Regions from separate parts of the Homo sapiens genome. Here regions 1 and 3 are each linked to region 2. Evidence: promoter capture Hi-C in 16 types of primary human blood cells and fetal thymus (Javierre and others, 2016). All regions are on one chromosome and are shown on one strand. Each heading gives the region's core, a stretch centred on a gene start or on the middle of the fragment in contact. The rest is flanking DNA. Distances are from core to core; before and after follow the strand shown.

Region 1 (4,168 bases), core at 980-3,479, 200 kb after region 2:
GTCTCGCTCTGTTACCTAGGCTGGAGAGGAGTGGCGTGATCTCGGCTCACTGCAAGCTCCGCCTCCCGAGTTCAAGCAATTCTTCTGCCTCAGCCACCTCAGTAGCTGGGATTACAGGCATCCGCCACCACACATGGCTAACTTTTTGTATTTTTAGTAGAGATGGGGTTTCACCGTGTTGGCTAGGCTAATCTTGAACTCCTGACCTCAGGTAATCCTCCCATCTTGGCCTCCCAAAGTGCTGGGATTACAGGTGTGAGCCACCACACCCGGCCCACAGCTCATTTTGAAGGAACTCTACCAATAACCTGCTGTTTACAATTTTTACATGATAAACAACATAGTAGCAAACATCCTTATATACATATCTTTTCATAATTTTAAGACTCTCTTGAGGTAAGATCCTAGAAGCTGGGCTGAAGAATTTGGTTCTCTTTCCATGGGTCGGGTCATTGGAATGTTCAGAGGATGCACCCGGTAGCAGATGCTCTTCCTCCCTAGTTATCAGGGCTATGTCAGGAGGAGGGGGAAAGAGACATGAGGATTTTGTTTGCCTCTATGTTCCTTTTACTTCCTTGATAGTTTGTCTTGGTTTATCCTATTTCTTTTTCTAACCCCCTGGCTTCTACTTTTGGCCAAATATTACTGGAGTATGTATGAGAGTAGAGGGAGACGCAGACGGGTCGGGGATGCAGGGAGTGGAAATATTGAGGGAATATTCCTTTTAATCATTATCTTTATTTTTATTTCATTCCAGCTTCTCAATGTGGATCAGGTGGGTGGATTTTTCTAATTTTTAAGACTATAAATCTTAAACGAATTTCTCTAATTTTTAAGACTCTAAGTCCTGTACTAGCAAGAACATGGATTTTTCTACCCTTCCTTAGAGTGCTCCAGATTATGTGGGAATTTTATTTCTCTTTGTTTGCAAGAGAAACTCCTAAAGAGCTCATTCCTTAGAAAAGCATGAATTTCCGCATGTCTCTTTAACCATCAATTTAGCTGCTCTCAAAGAAATCTGAAGAATGCTTTGCTTGTGTGTCTTTTTCCTTCTGTGTCCACTTTTAACTAAATGTCTCTTTCCAGTGTCTCCATTTCTAATTAATAAGAAGGGAGTTAGCTGGACTGATTATTCTTTGTCATCCCATTGTGGCCAGATCTTTGAACAGTCTATCTCTTGGGCTTCTAGACAACCTGCAGATGGCCACTTTTAGGTTCAGTACCTCTCTCATCCAGTCAGCTGTTGGTTGAGTGTGTGGTAGGGTGTGTATCATATGGAATGGAAAGATCCTCGGATGCTCTAGAATTCCGAGTGAGGTGAAGGGCATTCAGCGGACCTTGGGTGCTCTTACTCAGGGATTTCTTTTAAATTGGCAAGCTAGTCCAGGGGCAGTGCCAGCACTTTGGGAGGCCGAGTTGGGAGGATCACTTGAGCCCAGGAGTTCAAAACCAGCCTTGGCCACATAGCAAATCCCCATCTCTACAAAAAATATATAAAAAAAATAGCTTGATGTGGTGCGTGCCTGTGGTCCCATCTACTCTGGAGGCAGAGGCAGAAGGATCACTTGAGTCTGGGAGATTGAGGCTGCAGTGAGCTATGATTGTGCCACTGCACTCCAGCCTGGGCAACAGAGTGAGACCTTGTCTCAAGAAAATAAATAAATAAATAAATAATAAATTGGCAAACTAGGAGAGAAAAAGCATGGTAAGTATAGCCTGGCATTTTTGTTAAAAAAAAAAAAAAGCTTCTAAAAAATGTCTACACATACATTTACCCCATGACCCAGCAATTTAGGTATTTGCCCCAGAGCAATGAAAACATATGGCCACCAAGGCTTGAACATGAATGTTTATAGTAGCTTCATTTTTGATAACACAAAACTGAAGACAGTCTGGGTGTCCATCAATATGAGAATGGAAAAACAATTTTGACATAATTATACAATAGAACGCTACTGCATTCCATTGCAAAATAGTTTCTTTTCTACAAAAAGAAATGTGTTACTGGTACACACAACCTAGATGAATCTCAAAAAATTATGCTGAGTGATAGAAGTCTATTCCAGAGTCCACACTATATGACTCCATTTATATAAAGTTCTAGGAGAGGCAAAACTAAAAAAAATTTAAATAAAAAAGTCATTGCCTCTCAGAGATAGAGATGAGGCCTGAGCAGGAAGAGGTATTGGTATTTTCTGGGGTCATGGTCATTTTCACATCTTGAAAGGGGTTTGGTTACACGGGTGTATGCATTCTTCAAAACTTAGCAAATGTACACTTAAAATTGGTGCATTTCATGCTATGTGATTTTGCCTCAGAAGAAAAAAAATGTAAATAAATCTTGAACTGTAATTCAACTCTGATGTGTTCAGCGTATGGATGTATTTAAGTATACTTATGGCTATAATTTAATTTGAAATTCACCAAGAGAAATAAGATGGATTGATCAATGGATACAGACATGGATAGATATGTAATAAACTAAGAACAGTAAAATATTAATAGTGAAATCTTGGTGGTAGAAATTCAAGTGTTCACTGAAAATTCTTTCAGTTTGCTATGTGTGTGAAAAGTTTTCCAATAGAATGTTGGGGAAAATGTCTATTGAAATATGATATACCATTCAATTAACAACAAATAGTCATGCACGTGTCATATATAAAGCATTGTGATATGTACTAAAGATGCAAGAATGAAGAAAGACAAAGCTTTTGGCTCGGAGCTTTCACAGTTTCATAAAGGAGACCAAAGTACCAAATTGTTAGGGGAACAAACATGTCAACAATTTTCTGGAATCGTCTAATTTCAAGTACTTTACTTTTATTTGTTTTATGTGTAAAAGAAATGCATTTTATTATTATTTATGTTTCTGTTTCTATTTTTATATATTTCAGGGGTACAAGTGCAGGATTTTTAAATTTTCATTTTTTTAAAGCATAGTCTTTGTCATCTGGGCTGGAGTACAGTGGCACAGTCATGGCACACTGCAGCCTTGAATTCCTGGGCTCTAGTGATCTTCCCATGTCAGCCGCCCAAGCAGCTGAGACCGCAGGTGTACACCACCATGGCCACCTAATTTCTTAAAATTTTTGTAAAGACGAGGTCTCACTATGTTGCCCAGGCTGGTCTAGAACTCCTGGGCTCAAGCAATCCTGCTGCCTTGGCCTCCCAAAGTGATGGGATTACAGGCATGAACCACCAAGCCCGGCTGCAGATTGTTTACATGCTCGGATTGCATAACAGTTACATCTAGGCTTTTTAGTGTACCCATCACCGGAACAGTGAACGTTGTACCCAAGAGGTAATTTTTCAATCCTTACTTTCTCCTCCCTTCTCACCTTTTGGAGTCCCCAGTGTCTATTATTCCACTCTGTATGCCCACGTGTACCCACTGTTTAGCTTCCACTTATAAGTGAGAACATACGGTTTTTTTTTTTTTTTTTTTTTTGAGACAGAGTTTCACTCTTGTTGCCCAGGCTGGAGTGCAATGGTGAGATCTCGGCTCACCGCAACCTCCGCCTCCCAGGTTCAAGCGATTCTCCTGCCTCAGCCTCCCGAGTAGCTGGGATTACAGGCATGCACCACCACACCCGGCTAATTTTATATTTTTAGTAGAGATGGGGCTTCTCCATGTTGGTAAGGCTGGTCTCAAATGACTTTCTGTTTTTGAGTTATTTCACTTAGGTTAATGGCCTCCAATTCCATCCATGTTGCTGCAGAAGACATGATTTCATTCTTTTTTATGGCTGAGTATTATCCCGTGGTATATATGTACCACAGTTTTTTAATCCAGTTGATGGATTAAATTGGACACTTAAGTTGATGGACACTTAGGTTGATTCCATATTCAAGTACTTTATTTTTAAACGTAAGGAATTCTTTAAGTAAATGACTCCATGTTATTTTGATTGACTAATTTTGTAAGTGTTTTTATGTAAACAAACTCACAAGTTAGGAAAAAAATCTTTCATCAAATGCTGTCTTCTAATTTTGTTTAGGGAAATGTTTTTCTCATAACCATACCTTGCCTGTCTGTTGCCTCTGTGACCTATTGACATAATATTTAAAATTTACTTTACAGCAAGAAAAGGGCACTGAAAATGCACGGAAAAGTCAATGAAAGTCAGAAGAAAAAAAGGTTAATATTTAAGGTTGACTTTGGTTGGAG
Region 2 (4,397 bases), core at 1,258-3,757:
TTAGCAGAATAAGCTTCAGGTAGGATGTTACTCTGTAGAAAGAGCTGACTGAAAATGAAGTTAAAACTGAGGAATGTATAGCTGGGCAATATATACGTGGAGAGGGATGTTAAGTACTTGTGATGGTGGTTGAACCTCTAGGATCCAGCAATGCCTAAAGTGATTGCTACTTCTGGATTTCTCAACTTTTTCATTACACGAACTAATACATTTCTCCCCCCACTTCACTTTTTATTGTTATTTTCTCACTGAAACTGCCTTTCTTTCCTCTCTTGCAAAGGAATTCACTTGCCTCATCTGGCACTTGGGTGCTGAGGACAGAAGGAGGTAAGTACCCCCCAAAATCAGCAGGATCCAGAAGGGTATTCGGAAATGTTCTCCTCTGTGGCCACATGGCCCACTCCTACTGGTGCAAATGAGAGAAGCTGGAAAATTGCCTTAAATGTTGCCCAGATGCCACCTTTTTAAATCCTTTCCTGATTTCTTACCTCCTTCTCATCTTCCTTCTTCCTTCTCCTTTCCTTACCCCCTAGATTTGCTTGCTTCAGTTGGAATGGTATTTTTGGCTCTTATAACCAAGACCCATGAGTAATACAGAACTCATCAACACTCTTTACACTCTTAAGCAGTTGGAGACCTAACCAGATGCCTGGACACTGGGGACACAAACTGGAATAAAGTTCAATGAGAAGTGGACTGTGTCTTCAAGAAGCCCTCAGCATTGTGAATCGTGGACATTGTACAGTGTGACACGTGCCACACTCACAGTGTGTATAGGGTGTGTTGTGGAGAAGGGGTCCTCATTTGGACTAAGGAGTTAGCGAAGGCTTCCAGAAGCTGAGTAGGAACTAGAAGTAAGGACATTTCAGGCAGAGGCAATAACCGAATAAAGACAAAGGAGTGTCAGATGGCACATTATTCTTCATTCTGGAGACCCCGAGTAGTTTGATATGGCGGGGACGGAAGGTGCCTTTAGAAATGTGAAGGCAGATGGCGCCAAGGGTAGGAAAACGTCAGACCATGGGGGACCTTTGTCCTTCAGGTGTAAAATCATTTAAAGATTTAAGTGAGGGAAAACGTGCTCACGTTTGTTACTAAGATGACTGCTTTGGCTGCAGTGTGGAGGATGGATTGAAAAAAAGCAATTGTTATCTTACCATAGGATCATGAGAATCTCTCTTCAATAAATGCGAGAAAGGGCAGTCTGTTTTTCATGATATACTGATTGCCAGCATCTTGACAGAAGGGCTATGGCAAAACCGAGAAAACACTATCAATATTAGGCAAAAAAGCAAAACAAAACAAAAGAAAGGAAAACAAAGATCTCTCTAGCCCCAACAGTGCTAATTTTTGCATACCCAGCAATTACATTTCTAATGAAAGTCATTGCTGCCAAAATCAATCAGTATAAATGTTGGAGACTCCCTTCTCTTTCCGTGAAAAGCTTTTACTATTTCGTTTCACTAAAGCTTAAAGAGAACTTCGGGTTTATGGTTCATTCTAGAGCGATCCACCATAGGCGTGCTTTAAGATGATGGTCAGGGAAACTGTCATTTAATCTCAAGGAAGCTGTCATTTGATTCTATTCAAAAACTAGGCAGTACACATCAGCAGGCAATGTAGTCTGATGCTGTGACCTACTTTGTTGGCTGAAGCCTTCCACTGTTCCTGGAAGGGAAGTTATTTTTGTTTCCTTTCATCTCTCATTCACATACATGGAATATACACATTGGTTACTCTAGAAAACACATGGGTAGTCCTAGAGCAAAATGGGTTTCAAGGTTATTTAATTTATGCCTCTTAAAACCTCAGACACTTTCCTCCCAGTAAAATTTCATGTGGTATACAGAACTTTTTTTAAAAAAAAAATTCATCTTCTCCTTACTTCTCCTTACCACCTACTTTTTTCTTTCTTTTCTTTTTTCTTTTTTTGGGTAGAGACAGGGGTCTTGCTATGTTGCCCAGGCTGGTCTCAAATTCCTAGCCTCAAGCGATCCTCCCGTTTTGGCCTCCCAAGGTGCTGGGATTACAGGTGTGAACCACTGCACCTGGCCTACTTTTTTCCCTTTCAAGAAAATACAGTACTCCAAGGCCTGAGTGACTATGAAATTTCAACTTTTGTGCCTTTGTACTCTTAGATACCATGTTTGTTTTGTTCTTCTGCAAGATTACACTAAAATCCACTTTTCTTGTATGTATACACTATTTAAAAAGTTTCACAGTCTCTTAGGGAAGCCACTGGCAACACATCTTCACAGTGTCCGTGGAGAAGGTTATGTGATTTAAGAAACACTTGTGTCTATACCATTTAATATTTAGGAATTTGTTGATTTTTTAGGATCTTTGGATGAATGAGTTTTTAATTTTATCCAGCTTATTTAGAAGAAATTGCCATGCTTGCTTTAAAAGGGTTTCTTCTCGGATCCCAGCGGCGCCCAGAGCGTCACGCTGCGCCCCCGCCCCGGGGTCGGTCATGGTCTGCGCCTGCGCAGGTCCCGGCTTGCTCGCAGTCCTGCGGGGCGCCGGCGGCGATGGGTTGGGGAAATGGACGCCTGGAGAACGGAAATCCAGTTATCAAAATGGACTCGGGAAGAGAGAACCTAACAGAACAATAACAATGGAAGAAATTGGGAACATTATCACAAAGCTATCATCCTGCCAAACTCCAGGCTCAGATGATGTCACAGGTTAAAAAATGCCCTTCATGAGAAAGATCTTAAGCAACATGATAGATTCAGAAGCTCATGAAAAGAGGCCACCAATACTTACATCTTCAAAACAAGATATATCACCTCATATTACAAATGTTGGTGAAATGAAGCATTACTTGTGTGGCTGCTGTGCAGCCTTCAACAACGTCGCAATCACATATCCCATTCAGAAGGTCCTCTTTCGGCAACAGCTGTATGGCATCAAAACCCGGGATGCAGTACTTCAGTTGAGAAGGGATGGATTTCGAAATTTGTATCGTGGAATCCTTCCCCCATTGATGCAGAAGACAACTACGCTTGCACTTATGTTTGGTCTGTATGAGGATTTATCCTGCCTTCTCCGGAAGCATGTCCGTGCTCCAGAGTTTGCAACCCATGGCGTGGCGGCAGTGCTTGCAGGGACAGCAGAAGCAATTTTCACTCCACTGGAAAGAGTTCAGACATTGCTTCAAAACCACAAGCATCATGACAAATTTACCAACACTTATCAGGCTTTCAAGGCACTGAAATGTCATGGAATTGGAGAGTATTATCGAGGCTTGGTGCCCATTCTTTTCCGGAATGGACTCAGCAATGTCTTGTTTTTCGGCCTTCGAGGTCCCATTAAGGAGCATCTGCCTACCGCAACGACTCACAGTGCTCATTTGGTCAATGATTTTATCGGTGGAGGTCTATTGGGTGCCATGTTGGGATTCTTGTGTTTTCCAATTAATGTTGTAAAAACTCGCCTACAGTCTCAGATTGGTGGGGAATTTCAGTCTTTCCCCAAGGTTTTCCAAAAAATCTGGCTGGAACGGGACAGAAAACTGATAAATCTTTTCAGAGGTGCCCATCTGAATTACCATCGGTCCCTCATCTCTTGGGGCATAATCAATGCAACTTATGAGTTCTTGTTAAAATTTATATGAAAAAAAACCATCAGTTAAGTGCCATTTATCAACTGAATAGACCTTCTAAGAAGAATGCAGTTTGGCCTCTTTCTTAATTGGCCAAATACAAGTTCGTGTCATAACTCCAGGCCACAGTGAGTTACGGGCAAAGCTGTTTTCCTTAAGCATCAACAAAACAGAATAAAAGGTTCCAATAGGAAAATGTAAGGGTTTTTTTTTGTTTTGTTTTCTTTTTCTTTCTTTCTTTTTTTTTTTTTTTTATCATTACCTAAGAGCTTTAGGCTAATTGCCTGGTAAATAGCTGTCCATCTGATGGCCTTTGACAGGGAACCTAATCCCCAAGATAAGATTCTTTTTCTCAAACCAGTCTTGAAATCTCCTGCATTAAAACATAAGTTGCTATGACCGGCCAGAGAGAAGGTCCTCAGGGGCCAGGGGCTCCTCAGGCTTCCTTTGTTACTCCATTGCTTTCTTCTGTGCCCTCAGGAGCAGCTGCAGAGGATAGTCTTCATTAAGCTCAAGCATATGACAAAGGGGCAGAACAGAGAAGAAAAACAGCTTGTTATGTAGAGGCTTTTCATGATACATTGCTTGTATTAGTTTTGAAACTAATCACCTATTGGATAGTCATTATACTATTTCTATTTAGATATGGTAGATCAAGGAGCTATGAAAGTTCCCGTTTTGCTTTCTAGGTTTGAAAGTTTTCTGTTTGATTCTGACTGTGACCCTCAACCCTTCCAAAATATTCTTATGTTAATTTCACTTATTTCATTGCTGAAAGATGAAGGGACTT
Region 3 (4,383 bases), core at 339-2,838, 220 kb after region 2:
TTTTATATATCTCTTTGTTACTGATCTCTGGTTTTAATTTTTTTTTCATCAAAGTACATTGTATGACTGCAGTTCTTTAAAAGTTATTTACATTTATTTAATGTTCTAGAATACAGTCTATATGAAAAAGCATGTGTATTCTGCTTCTGTTGCATAGAGTGTTCTGTCAGTATCAACTAGATCCATTTGGTTCACAGTACTAAGTTTTCTATATGCTTACTGATTCTGTCACTTGTTCTTTCATTTACTGATAGATCAGGTTGAACTCTCCAACTATCATTATGAATTTGTCTGTTTCTCTTTCAGTTGTTTTTGCTTTAAGTTTTAAAAATTTCTGTTATTAGGTTCTGACATATTTAGGAGTTTCAGGCCTCCTGATGAACTGACTCATTTTTCATTATGAACTATCCCTCATTATTCCTGGTAATATTCCTTGTTCTGAAGTATACTTTATCTCTATGTTATACTTTTTTTTTTTTTTTTTTTTAGACAGAGTTTCACTCTGTTGCCCAGGCTGGAGTGCAGTGGTATGATCACAGCTCACTGCATCCTTGGCTTTCCAGGCTCAAGTGATCCCCCTACCTCAGCCTTCTGAGTAGCTGGGACTACAGGTGTGTGCCAGCATGCCCAGCTAATTTTTTGTATTTTTGGAGAGATAGGGTTTTAACATATTGCCCAAGCTGGTCTTGAACTTCTGGGCTCAAGTGATCTGCCTGCCTTGACCTCCCAGAGTGCTGGGATCACAGGCATGAGCCATTGTGCCTGACCTCTACATTATACTTTTATTTTCAGTTCTGCTTCTAATTCCTCAATTCTAGCATGAGCTTCCTTATTGCATCTGATCATCTTCCTGGAACTTTTCTCATCATTTTTTGGTGGACCCTCATAATAGCAAAGCCAAGTACTCTCATACAGAAGGTAAAATTTAAATGGACTTAATAGATTGTGTTTTTTAGGTTATATATCCTCTGCCTCTCCTACGGAGCTCATCCCTACCAAGCCTGCTCCTGCAGAGGGATGCAACTTTCCGACCCACTGACATCTGTCTTGGTCATATGACTTGCTTTGGTCAATGAAATGTGGTGTAAAAAGGTGGAGGCTTTGAGAGCCATTGCCTGGTTCTGCCTTGTTCTTTTCTTTGGGTCACAAGGACGGCAGCTTCCCAGGTACAATCTGCTCTCTCAGTGTGCATCTTGATATGAAGACATCATGAAGGAAAGCAGAGCTGACTGACTGGCAAAAACATAACTGTAAGTGAGAAATATGCCTGTGTGAGAACTAAGATCATGGTTACTGCAGCATAATTTAGCTAACACCGACTGATTCTGTGGGTCCCATTTCTCTTTCCTTATTGCCTATAAGTATTCCCTGAAAAAAGAAAAAAAAAAAAAACCCAAAGTCTCATTTGGATCCAAGGCAATGATTACCCTAATAATATCACATTCACATACAAATGTTCCCCCCACCCCCCACCACCAATACATAAAACTCATCCTTACATCAGTGAAATAATTTCTTAAGAATTCTTCGTTCAGTGCAACAGCAGCTGCCTGAGCTCCGGCCATGTCTCTGGAAGCCCCTGTGGCCCTTGCGGTCTTCGTGGTTTCAGTGGTCATGATAGCGCCTGTGGCCCCTGTAAACTGGGTAGCTCTACCAGAAAGCAGGCTTCTGTGTTCTTCCCACCTTCCATCCATCTCGGACATCTCATGTTGCCCTTTGACAATGGAAGCAGAGCTACTTCCTTTCATCGTGGCTTCCTTGGCCATACCTCCTACTCCATTTCTTCCTACTAGACTGCCCCCTTGATCCACTGGCAGAAATGATGGCACCACCTGTGAGAGCAAACACAGCTGAGAACTGAGTCAGGAGGATGGAGGGAATCCTTCATCCTTGGTAGAAGGATCTGAGTCAAGTGGGCATAGGAAGGTATAAGCTATTTCCACTGAGGCCAGTTAGAAAAAGTATTTTGAGTTGAATAACTTATGTAAGTCTTATGAAGATCTCCTTTCTTCTCTCTTCTTGTTTTATAGGTGGATAGAACCCAAAGAGAAAACAAAGCCCAAACAGTCTCAGCTCCTTTACTCTATGCGACCAATGGCATTTCAACCTCCCTCTACAGTTTGATACCTTCTTCTATAGTTACAGAATTCTTAACTTTGTTTTGACCTGGATCCATGGCCACCCAAAATAAAGACTATATTTCTAAGCCTCTGATGCCACTAGGTATAGCCACCTGACTAAACTGTGGTCAATGTGAATGAAGCAGAAATGGTGTACACAAGTTCCGGGAAGTGTGCTTAAAGAGGGTTCTTCACTTTTCTCCCATGTGCTGGTTAGAATGTGGGGACGGCAGCTAGGTAGCTAGAACTAGGACATGAGGACAGTGTGGGAATGGAACTCAACCATGGAAGAAAAACAAGGAAGAGGGAACTGGGGACCATGCTGCGGATGAATCATCATGTTGATCTTGGAATGCCCATTTTAGGATTAAGCCACTGTTATTCTGAGTTCTCTGCCACCTGATGCTAAATCCTATCCTATTAGAAATGGTGCTCATAACAGATGGTGGTGAGAGGTCCAGGGTGAAGGTGCAACAGAGAGACAAAGGGATATGGCTATGATGTAGTTGGGAAATGGGGTTTTGCAACATTTTACAAGTGTCATGGGGGTTGTGGGCTTACCTCTGCAAACCCTATGTATTGAGGGAAATGGAAATGAAGCAGTTCCTGGTTATGAAAACTGCCCATTTAATGTTAGGACAAAAGACTTAGATTCCTACACACTCTTGCTCTTCCTGAACCTTGCTCTACATTCTCTACAACATGGGAAGTGTCAAAACAGAGTAAAACTATCTCAATTCTGCCCCAGCAACAAACACAAAATATGCTGTCATTTGAACTCTTTGCTTAACAAAGGCACATGAGTGAAATCCATAGTGATCACTTTACTCACTCAACCAAACATGTAAGAAACACTTCCCTAGGCCCCTTTAAAACCCAAGAAGAAGACAAGTCATATTGACATCTGATCCACTGACCTTGTCTTCAGGTGGTGCTCCTTCATTATTCCAAGGATGCAGCATCTCTATGGTGCCAGGTATGGGGGTAAAGCCTTTGGCGCCCTTTCCGCAATGGCACATCAGCAGTAAAAGTGGTACCACTGTACAGACACAAAATTGAACACAGATAAGGTTAACCTTGATATATTTCTAAATTTATATTGCACAATTTTGGAATTTGCATGTCCCTTCCTGGACTTGTCTTCACTTATTTACAGCTCTATTTTTCTTTTCTTCACCCTGATCCAACCTTACCAAGCTTGTTTTGGGTGAATTACTCCAAAACCCGAAGGCAGGATGAGGGAGTCTTACAGATTCAAGGCCTTGTTCATCAAAAAGAGGCTGTCTGTGGCTGCTGAGTGGAATACCAAGACTAGGTTCAGATAGTATCCAAATCATCAAAACCAGCTTAAAGATTAATTTTTTTAAAACTATGGTCCAATTAAAAAAAAATCACTGTTGCAAAAATATATGTACTATTGAAAACAGTAATTAGAAATAATAAAGTGAAACATATAACAATTTCAGAGCCCTCTTCTTAGATTTTATTTTACCCCTAGGAGGAAGCAAAGACCAAGGCTGACCCCTTGATCAATGTAGTAAAGAATTAAACACACCTGCATGCCCATCTGCCACTCCCATTTGGCAGCTTCCAATGATGAACTGGCTACTGCCTAGATTCGTTTTTATGTCAAACAGTCAACAGCACATTAACTACAGCTACTACGATTAATAAGAAGACTGAAATCAGCCAGTGGCAATTCAACAATTTTAACAAACATTCATCAAGTGTCTATTATGTGCCAAGTACCACATTAGGCTCCAGGGAATCTGAGATGAGAAAGCAGTGCAAGGAATCCCTGAGCAAAAGATACAGTCCCAGCTCCAGTACCTACCTACAAACTTGGTAAGCTGAGACAAGTCATTTACCGTTATGTATCTGTATATGTAGCCATAGCATGGAGATGATGGTATAAAAGTACACTGCAGACTGTTGAGTGCTGTGCTTTCAATTGCACATCTACCAATGGCTCTAATACAGCAGTCCCCAACCTTTTTGACACCAGGGACTGGTTTCATGGAAGACAGTTTTTCCACAGGGAAGTTAGGGGTAGGGGGGTTGGTTTTGGGATGACTCAAGTGCATTACATTTATTGTGTACTTTATTTCTATTATTATTACATTGTAATATATAATGAAATAATTATACAACTCACCATAATGTAGAATCAGTGGGAGCCCTGAACTTATTTTTCTGCAACTAGATGGTCCCATCTGGGGGTGATGGGAGACAGTGACAGGTCATCAGGCATTAGATTCTCATA

The links. The method cuts DNA at HindIII sites, captures the fragments that hold promoters and counts their contacts. A CHiCAGO score of 5 or more calls a contact.
Region 1: a fragment that was not itself captured here is called in contact with the fragment with the promoter of SLC25A52 in region 2 in 1 of 17 cell types (M2 macrophages); the score reaches 5.4 in M2 macrophages.
Region 3: a fragment that was not itself captured here is called in contact with the fragment with the promoter of SLC25A52 in region 2 in 1 of 17 cell types (M0 macrophages); the score reaches 5.4 in M0 macrophages.

Annotation. Positions count from the first base shown.
Region 1 is chr18:31,557,824-31,561,991 of GRCh38, reverse strand. No RefSeq gene overlaps it. Among named protein-coding and RNA genes, the nearest start is that of DSG2-AS1, 3.0 kb to the right of the region's middle. The HindIII fragment of the contact is 963 bases long and covers 1,748-2,710 here.
Region 2 is chr18:31,758,990-31,763,386 of GRCh38, reverse strand. SLC25A52 (solute carrier family 25 member 52) reads left to right here and starts at 2,507. Exons shown (of 1, transcript NM_001034172.4): 1 at 2,507-3,803. The coding sequence starts at 2,726. The coding sequence ends at 3,619. The HindIII fragment of the contact is 4,954 bases long and covers 1,472-4,397 here.
Region 3 is chr18:31,539,969-31,544,351 of GRCh38, reverse strand. It overlaps DSG2 (desmoglein 2), which reads right to left. Exons shown (of 15, transcript NM_001943.5): 13 at 3,038-3,159; 14 at 1,500-1,832. DSG2-AS1 (DSG2 antisense RNA 1) reads left to right here. Exons shown (of 6, transcript NR_045216.1): 5 at 957-1,250; 6 at 2,031-2,206. Among named protein-coding and RNA genes, the nearest start is that of DSG2-AS1, 15 kb to the left of the region's middle. The HindIII fragment of the contact is 3,463 bases long and covers 1-3,319 here.